Regions from separate parts of the Homo sapiens genome. Here region 1 is linked to region 2. Evidence: promoter capture Hi-C in 16 types of primary human blood cells and fetal thymus (Javierre and others, 2016). All regions are on one chromosome and are shown on one strand. Each heading gives the region's core, a stretch centred on a gene start or on the middle of the fragment in contact. The rest is flanking DNA. Distances are from core to core; before and after follow the strand shown. Region 1 overlaps ZFAND4 (zinc finger AN1-type containing 4). Region 2 holds the start of TMEM72-AS1 (TMEM72 antisense RNA 1).

What was found. Contacts are between HindIII fragments. The CHiCAGO score rates a contact against its expected background, and 5 or more counts as called.
Region 1: a fragment that was not itself captured here is called in contact with the fragment with the promoter of TMEM72-AS1 in region 2 in 1 of 17 cell types (neutrophils); the score reaches 5.2 in neutrophils.

The regions. Positions count from the first base shown.
Region 1 is chr10:45,666,052-45,669,161 of GRCh38, forward strand. All of the region lies in intron 1 of ZFAND4 (zinc finger AN1-type containing 4), which reads right to left. Among named protein-coding and RNA genes, the nearest start is that of ZFAND4, 5.2 kb to the right of the region's middle. The HindIII fragment of the contact is 1,700 bases long and covers 532-2,231 here.
Region 2 is chr10:44,958,130-44,961,182 of GRCh38, forward strand. It overlaps TMEM72-AS1 (TMEM72 antisense RNA 1), which reads right to left and starts at 1,560. Exons shown (of 8, transcript NR_033842.1): 1 at 1,463-1,560. It overlaps RASSF4 (Ras association domain family member 4), which reads left to right and starts at 1,673. Exons shown (of 11, transcript NM_032023.4): 1 at 1,673-1,737. RefSeq lists an enhancer at 1,352-1,646 and a silencer at 1,424-1,643. The HindIII fragment of the contact is 10,910 bases long and covers 1-3,053 here.

The DNA of each region.
Region 1 (3,110 bases), core at 132-2,631, 710 kb after region 2:
ACATATGTTTTCCTTTCTCTTTGAAGTAGCTTTGCTAGATAATGTGGTAACTCTTATGTTTGGCAATTTGTGGAACTACCAAACTGTTTTCTAAATGGTATGGATCATTTTATAGTCCCATCAACAATGAATGAGGGTGCCAATTTCTCCACACCCTTGACAATACTTGTTTCTGTCCTTTTGATTAAAGCTATCCTAGTGGGTGTGAAGTAGTATCTCACTGTGGTTGACTTCCATTTCTTTAAAAACTAATGATATTGTGCATCTTTTTTATGTGATTATTGGCCATTTGCATACATTCTTTGGAGAAATGCCTATTCATATACTTTGTCTATTTTTTAATTGGATTTTTTATTGAGTTGTATGAGTTTTTATATTACATATTCTAGATAAAAACACTTAACAGATATATGAATGGTAAATATTTTCTCTCATTTTGTGGGTTGTCTTTTGATAGTATCTTTTGAAACACAAAGGTTTTTAATTTTGTTAAACTCTAATTTGGCTATTTTTCTTTTATCATACTTAAAAAGCTTGGCTTAACCCAAGGTAATAAAGATTGACTTATATATGTTTCTAAAAATTGTAGTTTTAGCTCTTATGTTTAGGTGTACTGTCCAATTTCAATTTAGTTTTGTGTATGGTGTGAGGTAGAGTCTAACTTTATTCTTTTGCATGTGGATAACCAGTTGTTCCAGTATCATTTGTCAGAATTACCATTCATTCCCAATTGAATTGTCTTGGATCCTTGTTAAAAACCAATTTACTGTAAATGTGAAGGTTTATTTCCAGACTCTTTATTCTGTTGATCTACCTATGCCAGTACCACCACATCTTAATTAATGTAGCTTTGTAGTAAGTTCTGAAATCAGGAAGTGTGAGGCCTCCAATTTGTTCTTTTTAGATTGTTGGCTATTCTGGACTCCTTGAATTGCCATATGAATTTTAAGTATGCCCATTTTGCAAAAATGTCAGCTGGGATTTTGACAGGGATTGTATTAAGTCTGTAGATTTGGAGAGTACTGCAATCTTAATACTAAGTCTTCTAATCCATAAATACATACTATTTTTCAGTTTATATCTAATTTATTTCAATGTTTTATAATTTTTAAAGCACAAGTTTTGTTCTCTTTTATTAAATTTATTCCTAAGTATTTTATTCCTTTAAATGCTATTACAAATGGAATCACTGTCTTATTTACAGATTGCTCATTGCTGGTTTATAGAAACACAACCGATTTTAATATCTTGATCCTGTACACTGCAACTGTGCTGAACTGTTTATTTCGTTCATTTAGTTATTTAAATCTTCCTAAACGCTCTCTATAAAAGCTCTATATACAAGATCATGTCATTTACAAATAGAGTTTTACTTCTCCCTTTCTAATCTATATGCTCTTTTCTTTCTTTTTTTTTTTTTTTTTTTTTTTGGAGGGGGTGAAAGTCCCACTCTGTTGCCCGGGCTGAAGTGAAATGGCACGATCTCCGCTTATTGTAACCTCCGCCTCCCGAGTTCAAGCGATTCGCCTGTCTCAGCTTCCCAAATAGCTGGGATTACAGGCACCTGCCACCACACCAGGCAAATTTTTGTATTTTTAGTAGAGACAAGGTTTTACCAAGTTGGCCAGGCTGGTCTCGAACTGCTGACCTCAGGTGACCCACCCACCCTGGCCTCCCAAAGAGCTGGGATTACAGGCCTGAGCCACTGCACTGGGCTTATTTCCCTTTCTTGCCTAATTGCCCTGCTCTGGAACCTTCAGTACAAGATTGAATAAAAGTGGTGAGACTGGACATCCTTGTCTAATTCTTGATTGTAGAAGGAAACCATTGAGTCTTTAGGTATAATGTTAACCGTGGGGTTTTCATAGATTACCAATATAAGGTTGACGAGCTTCCCTTCTATTCCTGCTTTAGGTGGGTTTTCTTTTTAATCATGAAGGGGTGCCAATTTTATCAAACGCTTTTTTCATTGTCTATTGAAATAATCATTTGGTTTTCTTTACTTTTTTATTCACATATTACATTACTTTTTATGTGTCAAATCAATCTTGCATTACTGGGGTAAATCCCATTTGTACCTGGTATGTAATCCTTTACATATGTTGATGGATTTGATCTGAAAATATTTCCTCAGGATTTCTGTGTCTATAATCACAAGAGATGATGATCTGTAGTTTTCATTATGTCTGTCAGGATTTGGTATCAGGGTAATATTGGCCTTAGCCAAACTAAGCTTCGTAAGTGAAGGAGAAATAAAATCCTTTACAGACAAGCAAATGCTGAGAGATTTTGTCACCACCAGGCCTGCCTTACAAGAGCTCCTGAAGGAAACACTAAACATGGAAAGGAACAACCGGTACCAGCCACTGCAAAAACATGCCAAATGGTAAAGACCATTGATGCTGTGAAGAAACTGCAACAATTAATGGGCAAAATAACCAGCTAACATCATAAAGACAGGATCAAATTCACACATAACAATATTAGCCTTACATGTGAGTGGGCTAAATGCCCCAATTAAAAGACATTTTAATGTCTGGCAAATTCTTCTCAGCACCACATCGCACTTATTCCAAAGTTGACCACATAGCTGGAAGTAAAGCACTCCTTAGCAAATGTAAAACAACAGAAATCACAACAAACTGTCTCTCAGACCACAGTGCAATCAAATTATAACTCAGGATTAAGAAACTCACTCAAAACTGCACAACTACATGGAAACTGAACAACCTGCTCCTGAATGACTACTGGGTAAATAACGAAATGAAGGCAGAAATAAAGATGTTCTTTGAAACCAATGAGAACAAAGACACAACGCACCAGAATCTCTGGGACACATTTAAAGCAGTGTGTACAGGGAAATTTATAGCACTAAATGCCCACAAGAGAAAGCAGGAAAGATCTAAAATTGACACCCTAAAATCACAATTAAAAGAACTAGAGAAGCAAGAGCAAACAAATTCAAAAGCTAGCAGGAGGCAAGAAATAACTAAGATCAGAGCAGAACTGAAGGAAATAGAGACACAAAAATCCCTTCAAAAAATCAATGAATCTGAGAGCTGGTTTTTTGAAAAGATCAACAAAATTGATAGATTGTTAGTAAGACTAAA
Region 2 (3,053 bases), core at 310-2,809:
TACAATTGTAACAAACCCGCACGTGTATCCCCTAAATTTAAAATAAAAATGGAAATTTTAAAAAATGCAAGCAGTAACACCAACTGCCCAGGAGTGCTGGGGGAATTGCATGGGATCCCCAATGTAAAGCACTAGCATAGTGTCTGAGCCCACAATGGGTGCACAGGACACATGGGGTTGCTGTCCCAAACCCAGTCCTCACTCAGAGCCAGTCATGGCCCTGTGAACAGCATTAATTAGGTCAGAGAGAATGATTCACACTCGAGTTCTGGAGAGCCCAGGGAAACTGTTATGTCACCCTGGTGCTATGTTTACTTCTCCTATCAGGAGTGATTAAATTCTTAGGATCTCATGCTCAGAGGTTGACAGTTATATTGAATTTTACCCACTTTTAAAAAACCTTTGGAAGCACCCGATTATTTGTCTCAGCTTTGATGAGGGCTGTGGAAGAGCAAATGTGTCATGACAAGTCACCAACCACAGGGAGCCTCAGAGCTGTCAAAGGATGGGCCATTCTCCAAAAATTCAAGCAAACGCAGAAACGGGAGGGCCCCTGGACTGGGTATCTTCAGTCCTGTCACTTTTTGCAGGTGGGGGTTCCAACATAAGTCATACAGCAGCCATACAAGCATTAGCACAGCCCCTCTAAGTCGAAGTTCAGGGACCCATGAGACTCAAATCCCAGGCTGATTTTGGTGCATATGGCCACCTGCACTTTCTAGAAGATCCATATCAGATTCTAAAATGGCCATGAGACCCTAAAAATATTAGGAAACGCACACTGAATGAAACTAAAATGATTTATGTTAGGGGTGGGAGAGAACAGGTCCAGAGGTCAGAGCTGGGAATCGTGAGGTAAAGCAGAAATTGCAAATGTTTTCCATCAACCCCATCCCCCACCTTGACACCCCCACACCCCAGAAACACTGAACTGTTCCCAGTTCCCCAAATGGCTTGTGGTTTTCTGTCCTCTCTGCCTCCGTGCTGGCAAATATTCGTCCAGGAGGCAGTGACTGGGAGAGAAAGACTAACTTCTTATTCACCAGATCGGATTTCTTAAACAATAAGGAGTTCTAAGAGGCCATGCCAAGCAAACGGCCAGACTGTACAAAGGTGCCCCTTGAGCAATAAATAGCAAATGCTCTGGGCTTTACTGATAAGCCTCCCCAGACTCCAAGCCCCACCAGGCATGCAGACAAGTGCCTGCAGTGATTGCAGCGCCTGCGCAGCGGCCCTTGTTGGAAGTCCAGGAGTCCGCGCTACCCCGCAAAGTCCCTGGCCGCTGCCCGCACACCGAACCTCTCGGGGCTGAGTCGGGCTGCTTTCTCCTCGCGTCCCGGGGCGCCCTCGGGAACTCGGGAGCGCGCGGCGAGCTGAACAATGGCCTGGGGACACCTGGCAGGTCGCAGGCCCCAAATCTTCCCCGCCGCCCCTAGGCCACCGCCCTGCACCCGGAACCTACCGGCGTTCCCAGAGCGGGGCGGACGGGGCGGTGCCATTGGCCGGTGCGGAGTGAGGGGCGTGCTCGGGGCGGGACGGAGAGACCGGGGCGGCACCTTTGGCCGTGCCGGGCGAGAGGCGGGGAGCGGGGCGGGGCGAGGGGCGAGGGGCGGGGCGAGGGGCGGGCCTGGCCCCGAGCAGCTGAAGCCTGGGGTCAGCAGGCGCTGCGGGCGCAGCTCCGGTGCAAGCGAGGACACGACACATGCAGTGGCTTCTGGACTGCGCGATGACTGGACGGTGAGTGATGAACGAGCAGGAGAGTGCTTGGGCGTCCATGGAGCATCCCCTCCGACCCAGGACTGCCACCAGGCAGGGACGCTGAAGCCTGGGCACTTGTGCCCTTCGGCCGCAGCGCGCAGGGTCCCTCCCCCGCCAGCCTGGCGCATTGCGGGCCTCGGGCTCATTGCTGAGAGGGGGCACTGCGCCTGGCACCTCTGTTAAGCAATTTAGGGGCTACAACCTGAGCAAGACAGATGAGCCCGGCCACTGGCTACACCTTTTTTGTTCACCTTGTCCTTAACCAGTTTCCTAGAAGCACTGATCCTAGAGTTGGGGAGAGAGCCTAGAGGCCTCTGGCACAACTCTGATTTCACTGATGGAAATCGAACGCCAAGATAATAGCAGCAGGGGGGGTCTGTCTCACAATCGCTGTCTGTAGAGGGCTCGCCTTGCTCTGGGCCAAGTGCTTTAACACGATATGCCTCTTACTCCTCACAGCAAGTGAGAGTCCTACTTTCGTTATCCCCTTTTCAGATGTGAAAACTGAGGCTTAAAGAGTTATAAAATTGTCCACCTTTACCGGATGAGTTGGTGATGGAGCCAGGATTTGAACCCAGGGCTTGTTGTGCCCCTGAGTCTCTTGCTCTTCACCCTTAGTCTCCGAAGGTCAGCCTGCCTGCTGCCCTGCTCTTCTGGGCTCCTGACTCCGGTCCCATCCTGCACTTCCCACTTCCAAAACATGCCTCAGTGTTTTCATTAACCTGGCACGGCGGAGGGAGGGAGGCCTCCTCTCACACCAGAATCAGTGCCCAGGCCAGGGCCAGCACTTTCTTAAAACACAGTAAGGACAGCTTCAGGAGCCCCATTTCACATAGGAATTAAATAAGGTCGCACAGCAAATAAGGGCTGGGCTTCTGGAATTTGAACCCAAGCAGGTTAGACTCCAAAGCTATGCTTTGCACTCACAGAGGAGCCCCTCGCTGGCTTTGCTGTAGTTTAACTGCCCACAGTACTAAGGTGTCAATCAGGATTTGTTGCCAGAAACCATTTTTTTTTAAGTTAGAAGTGAATTGGTGAAGTAACAGGTAAATGTAGACCATCCTGCCTTCTGTTCCTCTGTGTGGTTCCTTAGCTACTTCTGCCAGGACAGCAGGTTAGGGGAGAAGACAGGAAGGGAGAGGGTCAGAGGAGAAAGAGGAAGGGAGGGAAGAGGAGAGATGAAACTCATTAAACTTAGGTTAAAAAAATGCTGGCCGGAAATTGTCATGGGCTGTTTCAGCACTTTGTCAGTGTATGTGAAGGCTGTTGTCATTAGTTCTAGCCATAATTCTCTC